Regions from separate parts of the Homo sapiens genome. Here region 2 is linked to region 1. Evidence: promoter capture Hi-C in human tissues and cell types (Jung and others, 2019). All regions are on one chromosome and are shown on one strand. The core of a region is centred on a gene start or on the middle of the fragment in contact, and the rest is flanking DNA. Distances in the headings are between cores, read along the strand shown. Region 1 holds the start of XRRA1 (X-ray radiation resistance associated 1). Region 2 overlaps ARRB1 (arrestin beta 1).

Region 1 (6,880 bases), core at 2,363-4,862:
CATCACCTTGTCATTCTATTTTTTACCACAGACAGCCCTTTACAAAGAACATTTACTTCTAGTAGATTCCAAAGGACAGGGAACAGAGCTGGGTGCGGTGGCTCATGCCTGTAATTCCAGTACTTTGGGAGGCTGAGGTGGGCAGATCACTTGAGGCCAGGAGTTCACGATTAGTCTGGGCAACACAGTGAGACCTTGTCTCTACCAAAAATAAAAATAAAAATAAAATAAAAAGGGCAGAGGAAACCAAACTAAAAAACCCAAAGAACATTTACCAGCACTATACAATTTGATCCTTACAACAAGCCTATAATATGTATGAATGTCCACAATATTTACATAAGGAAATTTAAATTCAGTAATATCACACAACTTATCCAAGGTCATGTGGCTTTTATTAGGTAGGTGCAAAAGTTATCGTGGTTTTTGCCATTACTTTCAATGGCAAAAACAGCAATTACTTTTGCACCAACCTAATAACATGCGGCACTAGAACTCAAATTTGTCTCTTTTTATTATATATTATACACTACTGTGTATACGGCCTTATTAAGAAGTCTTCTAATTTCTGTCTCTCCAAACCATCTGAATAGTTTTCCTAAAAACCACTTTACACAGTCTCAAAACCCTTCAACAGCTTTCCTCTACTTCAAGCAATCCACGGCCTCCCTAATCAGATGCTATCTACTTGTCACTACAGTTCCTTTAGAGAGCCTTCTAGTCAACTCAATACCTGAGAAACATAAAACACCATCACATCTGTGTAACTTTACTCAAGGAGACTTTTTTACCTGGCATGTCTTTCTTTTCTCCCCCCAAATAAGGTGCCAGTTCCACTTTCAGGAATGAGGCCTTTCCTTCAGGCTCTTACTCTTTTTTTTTTTTTTTTTTTGAGACAGAGTTTCCCTCTTGTTGCCCAGGCTGGACTGCAATGGCGTGATCTCGGCTCACTGCAACCTCCACCTCCCGGGTTCAAGCGATTCTCCTGCCTCAGCCTCCCGAGTAGGTGGGATTACAGGCATGCACCACCACACTTCGCTAATTTTGTATTTTTAGTAGAGATGGGGTTTCTCCATCTTGGTCTGGCTGGTCTTGAACTTCCGACCTCAGGTGATCCGCCTGCCTTGGCCTCTCAAAGTGCTGGGTTTACAGGTGTGAGCCACTGCGCCCGGCCGAGGCTCTTACTCTTATCAATAAGCTCGCAGGGTTCACTCTATTTCTCTCATTTGAACTTCCGTAACAAGTACACACTTGAGCGAATATACCATATACTTCCTTAAATAGATTCAATTACCCCATCTCCTATATTTGGCTATTCTGAGTGCTCTCTGACAGTAGGATTCTTGATTTACTCCTCCACCATCACACATCTGTACTGGACACTACAGGTAATGGAGATCATTAATGTGTACTGTCTTACTTGGTTCTTCCCAAAACCCTGTGATCTAGGTGCCAGAGATTCCAAAATTCCAAATGAAGAAAGGTTAAGTGACTTGCCAATCTTCATACTGTTAGCAAGTAGCAGAAATACTTCAAAGCTGAAATCTTATGATCCCCACATCCGGGTTCTTTCAATAACACAATGGTGCCATATACACTATTCCATAATAATAGTATTCTATACTGCCTTAGCAGAATGCCCATACTTAATGTTTGCTGATGATGATCCAAGTGCAAGGAAGAGCAAGAGCAGTTAGTGGGGCAGGTAAGCACAGGCTATGAGGTGCTTACCTAGCAAGAGGGAAGGATTTGTGTACACAAATGACCATCAATTCCCCATACTCTCACATGTCTTGAAGCAATTTACCATCCCAACCTCCAGAATATGTTTCTGTATCTTAAGGTTTGAGTGTGAGGCCAGGTGCATGGTGACTTATGCCTGTAATCCCAGCACTTTGGGGAGCCAAGGTGGGAGGATCTCTTGAGGCCCAGGAATTTGAGACCAGCCAGGGCAACACAGTAAGACCCTGACTCTACAGAAAAGTTAAAAGCAAAAAAATTAGTCAGGCATAGTGGTGCACATTTGCAGTCCCAGCTACTCAGGAAGCTGGGGTGGGAAGATCACCTAAGCTTAAGAGTTCAAGGCCGCAGTGAGCTAAGATCCATTCTGGGCAATGGAGCGTGACCCCTCTCACAAGAGAAGAGTGTGAGAACCATGTCTTTCAAAACCAATGACACTCAAAAAGACAAGTAAAAAGACCTGGATCTTAACCCCTCAACATAATCATGTTTTCATTTCTTAAGCACCTACCATGTGTTATGCACAGGGAAGTCTGAAAGCTGTTTTCAATTATATTCAAAAATTCTGCTTACTATATTAAAGACACCATGCTTAACAATTCTCATCAAACCAGCCCAGGGCCCTACAATGAGAGAACTGGAAGGGAATTTAGAGTTAAGTCCCTCATTTTAAGGCTAAATCTCTCACTTTGCAGATGAGAAAACAGATATAGAGAGAGCAAGCATATTTCAAGGTCACAAAGCTAATTAGAGGCAAAATCAACACCAGGACGTTGTTCTCCGTGCAACTGTTTCTTCCAAGATGCTGTGCAAAGAGCAAGAAAGGCCAACCCAGGGACAGTTTTCCTTTTTTTCTTTTCTTTTAAACCCTTGTTGCTAGGACTGCAGTTAAAAAAAATTTTTTTGGATGAGCAGAGGGAGGAAAGGGGCAAGCGTGAGCGGGCAGCAGTGCACTTGGTAGCAAAGAGGGAGGTGGAGGGAAGAGAGGAGAGGGCGGGGAAAAACAACAGGAAAAAAAGAAAAATCTTAAAGGCTTCTTGTCAGCCCAGTAGAACAGTCAATACTCAAATATTTTCAGTATTCGCCTATCATGATAAAACGCCTAAAAACTTCAGTAAGCAAAAGGACAAGAAGCACTTTGGAATCTGTAGCAGCACGCAAGGGTGATGGTGGTAGAGAGTTTGGGGGATACTGATTCTTTAATCTTTGGGCTTCGGTTTTCCGTGTCTGTGAAATGGGCACTGACAACAGTGCACCCAGCCCCCCAGGAGAAAAGAGATGGACACGATTAAATATAGGAAAAATCAAATTACCGAAAAAGGTGTGGCGACCAGGACCAGAACACTTGCGAGAAAAGAAGAAGTTCTAAAGAGGACCGGGTCCAGGTTTGAAGTGTGATGAGGGCAAGGGCAGGCTCCAAGCGTGCGTAGGGTTGTGATAGTGGTCACACAAGGGCTCCCCTCAAAAGGCCGTAGAAAATAAGGGAGACCGGGATGGGAAGGTTGGCTCGCCGCCTCCCAGGCCTCCCCAGGATTCAACTGTTCCCAAGAACCGGCTCCTCACCTTATCCAACAAGCCGCTACGGCCACTTCCTGTCCCGCAGTTGGAAGCACCACCAGCCCCACTACAGCCTCCGCTACCACCGCTTCTCCCGCCCTGTACAGCTGCCGCCGCCATCTTGTCCGCCTCTGCGTCTCCCTCCCCTCCGACTTGTCTGAAGCCGATTGGCTGGAGCTGACAGCGTGACGCGCCGCGCGGAGTCAATCGGGATCCGTAGTTTGGGTCTTGCTGGCGCGAGGTAGTCAGAGGACGTGGCCGCGGGGCTTGCTGGGACTTGAGGTTAGACGTCCCGGCCGTCGGTTGCCGCCTACACTGTCTGCCGTCGCGTCGCAGTTACTAAGGCGTGGGGAAGATAGCGGCAGGCACCGCAGTGGAGCGGCTCCGAGATCCCCGGGGGGCTCGCAGGCGCGCATCCCTCCTGACTGGGACGTCGCCTCCGCAGACCCCTCGGAGGCTGAAGCGACGCCGGAGGCAGGTGCGACTGAAACTTAGTTTTCGAATTCGAGTCTTTCTCCGGCCCAGGTGTGGAGTTTCCAAAGGAGTGGGCAGGAGCTTGTCCTTCATCCTTTTCTAGCCCGGTTGTGGCACTTACCGATTATTCTCTCAAGCAGCTGTCATTTTAGCTGTTTGTAATGTTTTCGTGTTAACGGAGAACTCGCGTTTACTGAGTGCCTACAGTCTGCCAGGCAGTATCCTATGTGCACTTCCAGCCATCCTCTCTCTCACTGAGTCCCACAACAGCCCTGTTAGATGAGGAGGAAACTAAAGAACCTACCCAAAGCCAGATAGCATGTATCTGAACTCGGTTTTCAAGCCGGCATTTAAAAAAAATCAAAACCAATATATATCCCTTCTGACACTCTGCTTTTACGGTTTTAGGATGTAATAGTATTCTAGATTTTAATTATTTTTTTCACAAATGTATATTGAGCACCAATATTGTACTAACGGATACAGGGGATCAAGATAGACCTGGTTGCTACTCTGGTGGACTACTACTCCATGACAGAGTTATCAAATAGCAGTATTGTATTATACCATGCTCTATTACGTTGTATTTTAATTAATTTTTTTCACAAATGTATATTGAGCACCAATATTGTACTAACGGATACAGGGGATCAAGATAGACCTGGTTGCTACTCTGGTGGAACTACTACTCCATGACAGAGTTATCAAATAGCAGTATTGTATTATACCATGCTCTATTACGTTGTATTGTTTTTTAATTCCTATATATCCCCCATAAGCGTCTAAAGAATTAAACAAATATTTTTGAGTTTCTTACTATGTAACAGGCACTATTCTAGTCACCAGGGATATATCCCTGAATAAAACAGACAAAAACTTGTCTTGGGGAAGCCAAAATTCATGTGAAAATAATTATCTCGGCCGGGCGTGGGGGCTCATGGTTGTAATCCCCGCCAAGGCAGGCGGATCACCTGAGGTCAGGAGTTAAAGACCAGCCTGGCCAACATGGTGAAACCCCGTCTCTACTAAAAATACAAAAATGAGCCGGGCGTGGTAGCGGGCACCTGTAATCCCAGCTACTTGGGAGGCTGAGGCAGGAGAATTGCTTGAACCGGGGAGGCGGAGGTTGCAGTGAGCCGAGATCAGAAAGAAAAGAAAATAATTATCACTAAATAACTAAATTATTACTAAAAAGAAAATAAATATCACTAAATAGCAATAACATCAGATGATATTTCATTACCTCTGTGAAGCAATCCGTGGACACTAGTCAGATCCCCTGTAGCTTGTTGTTGCAGTTTATCTTTTACAACTTCTCATTTTTCTTTTATTTAAAATAAAGTGAGATGATACAGCATTGCCCTAGTCACTTTTTATTTTATTTTTTATTTTTTGAGACAGAGTCTCACTCTGTCACCCAGGCTGGAGTGCAGTGGTGGGATCTTGGCTCACTGCAACCTCTGCCTCCTGGGTTCAAGCAGTTCTTGTGCCTCAGCCTCCCAAGCTGTAGTCTTTGTAGCTGGGACTACAGGCACATGCCACCACACCTGGCTAATTTTTATATTTTTAGTAGAGACAGGATTTCGCCGTGTTGGACAGCCTAGTCTTGAACTCATGACCTCAAGTGATCCGTCTGCTTCGGCCTCCCAAAGTGCTGGGATTACAGGCATGAACCACCACACCAGGCCAACTTCTCATCTTTCAAGATCCAGCTTTAATGTCACCTACCCTGTGAAACTATTTCTGATACTTGCTTCTTCTTTCTTCACCCACTGCATGAAGTGCTCCTGTGGCATTTTGTTCATGGGTTGGGTTAGTTCAATTAACAATCATTGAGACTCTTCCTTCAGTAGGCCAGGTCCTGTGTGAGATGCAGGATAAAGAGATAAGTACAGGCTCACGCCTGTAATCCCAGCACTTTGGGAGGCCGAGGCGGGCGGATCACGAGGTCAGGAGATCAAGACCATCATGGCTAACATGTTGAAACCCCGTCTCTACTAAAAATACAAAAAATTACCCAGGCATGGTGGCGGGCGCCTGTAGTCCCAGCTTCTAGGGAGGCTGAGGCAGGAGAATGGCGTGAGCCCGGGAGGCGGAGCTTGCAGTGAGCTGAGATAGCGACACTGCACTCCAGCCTGGGTGACAGAGCAAGACTCCGTCTCAAAAAAAAAAAAAAAGAAAAAGAGGTAAGTAGGACCCAGGCCTGACCTGACCTTGGAGATACTCACAGCCTGTAGTGAGGTGGGGAACAAACAAGGAAGCAGGCATTATAATACAGTGTGGTATAGTGCCTGTATTAGTCCATTTTCACACTGCTATAAAGAACTGCTCAAGACTGGGTAATTTATAAAGGAAAGAGGTTTAATTGACTCACGGTTCTGCATGGCTGGGGAGGCCTCAGGAAATTTACAATCATGGCGGAAAGGGAAGAGGCAAGTCTTACATGGCAACAGGCAAGAGAGGGCAAGAGTGTGAAGGAGGAACTGTCAGTTATAAAACCATCAGATCTCGTGAGAGCTCACTCACTATGGTGAGGACAGCATGGGGGACCACCTCCTTGATCCAATCACTTCCTACTAGGTCTCTCTCTCAACACATGGGGATTATGGGGATTACAATTCAAGATGAGATTTGGGTGGGGACACAAAGCCTAACCATGTTAGTGCCTCCATTAAGAAGTGGGCCTGATGGCTGGGCAAGGGGGTTCACGCCTGTAATCCCAACACTTTGAGAGGCTGAGTTGGGAGTTTGAGGCAGCCTGGGCAACATGGTGAAAACCCATCTCTATCAAAAATATAGAAATTTAGCTGGGCATGGTAGCACACGTCTGTGGTCCAGCTACTTGGGAGGCTAAGGTGGGAGGATTGCTTGAGTCTGGGAGGTGGAGGTTGCAGTGAGCTGAGATCATGCCACTGCACTCCAGCCTGGGTAACAGAGTGAGACCTTGTCTCAAGAAAAAAAGAAAAAATAAATAAAAAAAGAAGTGGGCTTGAGGAGGCTCAGCCTAAGGAGAGGGAGATACAGGAAAGCTAATCTGTATGTAGCCGGGCAAGGAAGAGGGGCAGAAATGTGATAGGCCAAAGGAATGGAACAAGCAAAAATATGCCTT
Region 2 (6,713 bases), core at 3,669-6,168, 390 kb before region 1:
GCTTCATAAAAAGCCATTGTCGGCCAGGCATGGTGGCTGACGCCTGTAATCCCAGCCTCTTGGGAGGCTGAGGTGGGCAGATGACCTGAGGTCACGAGTTCGAAACCAGCCTGGCCAACATGGTGAAACCTCGTCTCTACTAAAAATACAAAAATTAGCCAGGTGTGGTGGCACACACCTGTAATCCCAGCTACCAGGGAGGCTGAGGTGGGAGGATTGCTTGGACCCGGGAGGTGAAGGTTGCAGTGAGCTGAGATCTTACTATTGTACTCCAGCCTGAGTGACAGAGTGAGACTCTGTCTCAACAACAACAACAAAAAAGCCATCATCATTCAAGACTGAGGGTGGATCTCAGCTCCTTCCCTCTCCCATGTCCCCTTCCTCCTCTTTCATCCCTCTTTTCCATGGTCCAGGGTAGTGTACACAGCTGAGTGCGCGGGGGTGGGGGCACAGGGAGTGGGGGCTGTGCCGGCCAGCGGAGAAGCTCCAAGGAAGGCAGGAAGGGAAGTGAGATTGCCCAGGGCCAGCAGCAGCAGTGTGGTGCTGGGGCTGCTGGCGCCACTCCCCTCTGGCCCCTCACCCACGGCAGATTCTCTAGGAGGAAGTGGGGAGAGATTGGGGAGCAGGAAGCTGGGGGCGGTTGTGGAGGGAAGTCCCTTGGCATCCTGGCCCCAGGCTCCTCTTTCTTAACCCTCACCCCTGTGCAGAGCCCCGAGCCTGGCTTTCTGCCAAGGGAGCCAGCAGGCCACTGTTTCACACACTCAGAAAACAACAGCTTTCCTGGTTCCCAACCCCAAGTAGGAGGTGCCTGCTTGGAGCTCAGGCACTTGGAAAGCAGCGCCTGCTACAGGGTCTGCCAGGTCTGGAGGAGGCAGCAAAAGAGAAGAAAGACCCCCAGCCCCCACAGCCTCTCCTCGTAGTGCTGGGCTGAGATATGCCAGGGACTCTGACTCCAAGGCAGCTGGTTACATAACTGAGCATGCCTCCCTGCTCCTTTCCTCCCTGTTTCCCCAGAGGGGCCTTGGAGGAGGTGCTGCATTGCTCAGAATTCCTGCACCCAGAAGGTCGTGGGGAGCATCCCCCTGCCTTGGATAGTGGTAGTGCCGCCCACACTGTGTAGAATGGTGAGCCATGTATGCTTCCTCAGTGCAGGCCTCTGGGGTTGGCTCTGAGCATTGTCCCCTCCAACTCTCTTGGGAGCAGAGCTGCAAAGCGGGGAAGCCTCATTAGAGGAAACAGGCCTCGTCCTGAGATAATTTGCCTGCAAACTGCCCCCAGAGGGCAACTGGCCTCTGCAGCCAGAGGAACAAATAGCTAGCATTTTACAGTTTGTTCCATTCAATTCCACAAACATTTCTCCCTCCACTCAAGGCATGTCCCGAAGTGGCCGGGCCTGTCCCAGTGGTGTGTCTCTCTCCGAGTGGGAAGGGGATTTATGGAGCAGCTCTGCTCTGCCTCCCGCCTGAGGCTGCCCTTTCTCCGAAGTTGAGGGCCTGGCCTTCCCAGGTTCTGGGTGGCAAGAAACCTCATGACATGGAACACTATCTCCCCGGGCCTCGGGCTAGGAGTTTTCAGGGTTAGCTTATATCGTTTCTGTTAGGCCATCGCTGCCCTCCTGAGGAGGTTCCAAGGAACAAAGCTTTCTCTCTGTGCCACACCCCGGGCCCTGTGCTGGGCACCTGAAATATGAAGAGGACCCAGACAAGTCTCTGCCCTCATGCTGCTCAGATGTATTGGGAGAGAGGAAATAGATGATCTCAACAGCTGCCAGAAGAGGGGTAGTGGGCATCTGTTTATAGCAGGGACAAAACAGGGCCAGAGGTTAAGGATCAGAGGCAGCTCCCCAGAAGTAGGGACTCACGACCTGGTTGGAAAGTGCGTTTGTGTGAGCCAGAGGTAGTACTCTTCCTGGCAGTATCTCTGTGACATGTGTTTTCATCCAGGACTGACTTCCTTCAGCAGACTTGAGAAACCTACTATGTGCCGGCATAGTGTCAGGCACTGGTTTCATCTGCTGTCAGTAAGGAGTGTCTTGGGAATGCAGACTGCTTGAGGACAAAAAAACTAGGGTGAAAAGTGAAAGTTCTGCCACAGGGCATCACAGTAAGTGTTTCTGCCTGGAGAAAGAAAATGGGGTGGGTATATCAGGAGACACTGGGCTCAGCAAACCTGCCATTGGAAACCAGGGTCTACTGTCCTGAGGGTATGGAGAGGAAAGCTTCCCTCTAGCCCAGGAGACACTGCAGAGATCTGATGGCTCTTCCCAGAGGAGCCCATGGGCATGAGACAGTTGAGAAACTATGTCTTAGGAGAAACAGCTCCAGGCTTTGGGGCTGGCAGCCAGGGGCCATGTGCGCTGGTCTCTACAGATTGGAGGGCTATCTTTGGGCACACTGAGGCCACGTGGAGTGGTGGAGAGGAGGCAGCAGGCTGGGGTTCTCCCCTCCCCTTTACCAGTAATTGCATGTCTGTAGGCAAGTTTTCCAGCCTCTGGAGATAATGTGTTCATCCTTTCTCGGTTACAGCTGTGCTAATTAAAGCACCCAGCACATTAGCAGGGCTCATCACTGGTTGATGTTATGATGGGTCTCTATTGCCCCAGGGTACTGGGAGAAACCTACAGACGTTTTAAAACTCAATAAGGAGATTTTTTTTTGCAACAGATTTTTTTGACATTCTAAAAATGACAAAAATGATTACACATCATAATCAAGTGATTAATATGCGTTGTCGTTTCTCCCTGCGCTGACTGTTCCACAGCAGCGATTCAGTACAGCAGTGATTCACTGTGCATACTTGAAACAATTCAGCCACCTCTGATGTTCACCATTTGCAGAGTAAACTTTGTAGTAGGGAGAACTTTCAAAGAACCATGACCTGGCCCCACACTGAGCCCTGACCCAGTGTACAGAAAGACCTGAGTTTCTGTACACTGAGGCTCTGGCCTCAACTTCCATTTGAGTGTAGACCTGGATGGGGGTGTGCTGAGCTCCCTGGAGAAGAGAAAACCATGCCTTCCTGTGGGCAGCCCCAGTTCAGGGGATCCAAACTGAATGGTGATAGAGACATGGCTCCCAAAGTACTGTTCTCCTCATTCTACCGCCACTGGCTCAGGTCAAGCCCCACTCCTGGCCTGGATCATTACAATTGTCTTCTAGTTGCTGTCTTTCTGCTCAGTCCCAACCCTCCAAGCCATCCTGTTATTCTGAAATTCACATCTGGTCATTCTTCCCAGCCTAAGGCCTGATCCACTGCTCCCCATGTCCTATGGGAAAGTCCCCATTCTCTAGGTGGCACTGGAGGCCCTTCAGGATCTGTCTCTAATGTCCCTTCCACACTCCTTTCCCAGCTGTCCCCACCACACTGCTAACAACCTGGCTGCATTGACTTTTTTGGATCTTCCTCAACAGTCTTTGTACTTTTCACGCCTCTGTGCCTTTGCTCAAGCCGATCTCTTTAGCTGGAATGCCCTTCTTCCTCTGGTGAAATATTCCTTATATTTTCAGGTTGAACTTAAAAACATTTTAGCCTGGGTGCGGTGGCTCACACCCTTAATCCCAGCACTTTGGGAGGCCGAGGCAGGCGGATCACTTGAGCACCATTGCACTCCAGCCTGGGCAACAGGAGTGAATCTCCGTCTCAAAAAAAAAAAAAAAAAAAAAAAAAAAAAAAGACATTTCAATGAAATTCATTGAACAACTGCACAGGGCACCTGCTGTAGACATGAAGCCCTCCCTTGACTGCTCCCTGCCCAGGTAGAGTGAATGGCCTCTTCCAGGCTCCCTTAGCACTGTGCAGGCTTCCCGGATGGCACTTTACATTGTAGTTGACTGCTAACAAGTCAGTTCCCTCTCTGCTCGAGGGCAAATGTGTATCTCTTGTCTCTTGGACTCCCAGCTCCTGACTGGGGCCTGGCACAGTGTGGGGCCAGACTTGGGTTAGGGAGTGAGTCAGGGAAGATTCCCTGGAGGAAGTGAGCCCCGAGCTGCTGACTTAAAGAAAAAGCACCCTTTCCCTCTTCTTACTTCCTTCCTGGTCCTCGTGCTGAAGGAAAACAGTCAAAACTTTTTTTTTCCTTTTCTGTTTTTCCTTTGAGATAGGATCTTGCTGTGTCATCCAGACTGGAGTGCAGTGGCACGATCATAGCTCACTGCAGCCTCGAAGATTTTTTGTGGAGATGGGGTCTCACTGTGTTGCTCAGGCTGGTCTCAAACTCCTGGGCTCAAGAGATCCTTCTGCCTCAGCCTCCCATAGTGTTGGGATTATAGGTGTGAGCCACTGTGCCTGGTCTGAAACTGACTTTGAAAAGGGAAATGTATGGCTTTTGAATTGAGGGATGGAATCTCCTAGCCTGGAGATAATTAAATAAGGCTTAGATCTCCCTCTCTCCCTTCACGCATTTCCTGAATACCTAGAACATGCCAGACACTGGAGCTACAAAATGAATTAAATAAAACATGTCTATCTTTTTCTATCTCCATAATGTTCATGCTGGAAACTGCCCTTTTTCTGTTTCATTGGATCAAGTTCAAATCTTAGCAGGTCACTTGTAACTCTGACTCTGGGCACATTGTGCCACCTTTCTGAGCCCTAGTTTTCTTATGCATACCACGGAGGTGATAATATTCCCCTCATAGGGTGGTGATGGATCATGTGTGTGAGGGGCTGAACAGGTGCCTTTGACAGTGGTTTCTCATTGAGTGGCAGCCACTCTCCGACTGGAAGTTTCTTGAGGGCAGTGACTATGTTTGGTAGATAAATGTGTCCTTGGCACCCAGCCCAGGGACCAGGCATGCAGTACATGAGGGTCGTCAGCCATCCCAATTTTCCTGGGACAGTCTCAGTCTCGCATCTCAGGAAACCCCTCAGCTCACTCCTGGGCAAATCAGGACTGTGGGTCACCCTACAGTATCTTCTCATAAAGATTCGTAGAGTAGGTATATCCACGAATTAAGCAAGCATTAGTGAAGGACAGGAGTAGGACTTGAACAGGCCAGGGCAAGCACTGGGTGGCTGCCTTGGGCGCTGAGAGGAGTCAGCAGAAGGGTCTGGAAGGCCTAGCATGTGGACAGTGGGAGGTAGGGGTGGGGCCATCTGCAGCTTGGCAGGGTGTGGGGAGGACATCAGGCCCTGAGTCTGTAAGGTGACTGCTTTCAAACAGGTTTCAGGCTCCCAAGGGCCATGTGCTCTTCCTCAGACACATCCAGAGAGGGCACGGTTGATTCTCACTTTTTTGATTTCTATTAAATATATTGAGCCCTCAGCTACTCTTCCGCCTTGGTAGCTGGAGGCCTCTTCTTCCTCAACCTACTGAGTCTCAGCGTGCCTGCCCACTGCCTTCTGAGCTGTCCATGCCAGACTGAGATGAGACAGGGCAGAGGCACGGGCTGCGAGATGGGAGAGCAGGGCTGCAGGCTCATTCTCAGGCCCAGCCCCAGACACTGAGTGAGCCTTGGTTTCTCACAGGGTATCTGTGAGTTGTCACGTGTGGAAAGCCCCTTGGCATCTTTAGTATGCAATAGGTGCACAGCAAGTCTCATGTTTTGTCCCCGTCTATAAAAGGGGGACAATAAAGCTTGCCCTGCTCACCTCCAGGACTGTCGTGTGGGCCAAACGGGATGTGGATGTGGGATGTGGGAACATTTGGTAAACTGTATCATACCCTACAAATGTTTGAGGATGGGGTTCTTAATAGGGCAGCCCTTGCCAGCCCAGGATTCCAGGCCCAGGATTCCAGCCCAGGCATGGAAGGCTCCTCTTGGGGTTGTGCCCCAGGATCACAAAGAAATCTGGCAGTGCTGCCCTTGTGAGCAGCAGACCTCCGCAGGCAGGTCCGAGACTCAGCTGAGCTCTGCTTCTTTTTTTTTTGAGACAGGGACAGGGCCTGGCTCTGTTGCCCAGCCTGGAGTGCAGTAGTGTGATCATAGCTCACTATAGCCTTGACTTCCTGGGCTCACACAATCTTTCCTCCTCAGCCTCCTGAGTAGCTGGGACCACAGGTGTTCGCCACCATCCCAGGCTAATTTTTAAATTTTTTGTACAGATGTGGTTTTGCTACATTGCCCAGGCTGGTCTTGAACTCCTGGGCTCGAGCAATCCTCCCGTCTCAGCCTCCCAAAGTGCTGGGATTACAGGTGTGAGCTACCACGTCCGGCCAAGATCTGCTTCTTCTGAAACCATGGCAAGAGAAAGACAGACAGACTTGGACCTACTGCAGGGAGGGTTAAGTAGCAGCGGGACTCCCATCAAGAAGAAGGAATGTCTTCCGGAGCCTCATCTGTCTGTTGGGCTGGAGGCAGGGCCTTTGTGAAGGCGGGTGGTGCTCAGATCGCCTCTGGGCCCTTCCTCCAGCCCCGAGGCGGATTCACCATGAGGCTGATGCAGCTTCAGCTTCCAGCCCTTCACGCTCCAGGGCCCTTTCCAAGGCCTAGCAATGTGTCCATGTGCTCAGGGGTTTTGTGAAATTTGCAAAAGGAAATTATTTTTGTACTCTTTTTTTTTTAAAACAAACAAACAAACAAAAAAAAAACCTTCCAAGCTCTGTAAGCTTTAGGCGCCCAAGCCCAGCTCTGCCCTGCTGTGGCAAGTTTTCGTTTGGGCTAGGATGTTGGTGCCACATCTGCTGCATGTCCTCAGGGGGCTCTCATCCCACAGCAGAGATCTGTCATAGGTTAGAGCCCTCCCTACAGAAGCAACACCTGAAAGGCATCCAG

Evidence for each region. Contacts are between HindIII fragments. The study calls those that stand out against the background at their distance.
Region 2: a contact is called between a fragment that was not itself captured here and the fragment with the promoter of XRRA1 in region 1, in 1 of the 25 tissues and cell types used here (dorsolateral prefrontal cortex).

What each region holds. Positions count from the first base shown.
Region 1 is chr11:74,945,823-74,952,702 of GRCh38, reverse strand. XRRA1 (X-ray radiation resistance associated 1) reads left to right here and starts at 3,612. Exons shown (of 19, transcript NM_001378157.1): 1 at 3,612-3,775. SPCS2 (signal peptidase complex subunit 2) reads right to left here and starts at 3,437. Exons shown (of 5, transcript NM_014752.3): 1 at 3,304-3,437. The coding sequence starts at 3,417. RefSeq lists enhancers at 3,183-3,232, 2,535-3,389, 3,313-3,532, 3,663-3,722, 3,843-3,892 and 1 more. The HindIII fragment of the contact is 13,977 bases long and covers 1-6,880 here.
Region 2 is chr11:75,334,746-75,341,458 of GRCh38, reverse strand. All of the region lies in intron 1 of ARRB1 (arrestin beta 1), which reads left to right. MIR326 (microRNA 326) reads left to right here and starts at 6,273; the gene lies at 6,273-6,367. RefSeq lists enhancers at 1-74, 522-711, 75-938, 5,701-6,234, 6,235-6,713. The HindIII fragment of the contact is 5,978 bases long and covers 1,930-6,713 here.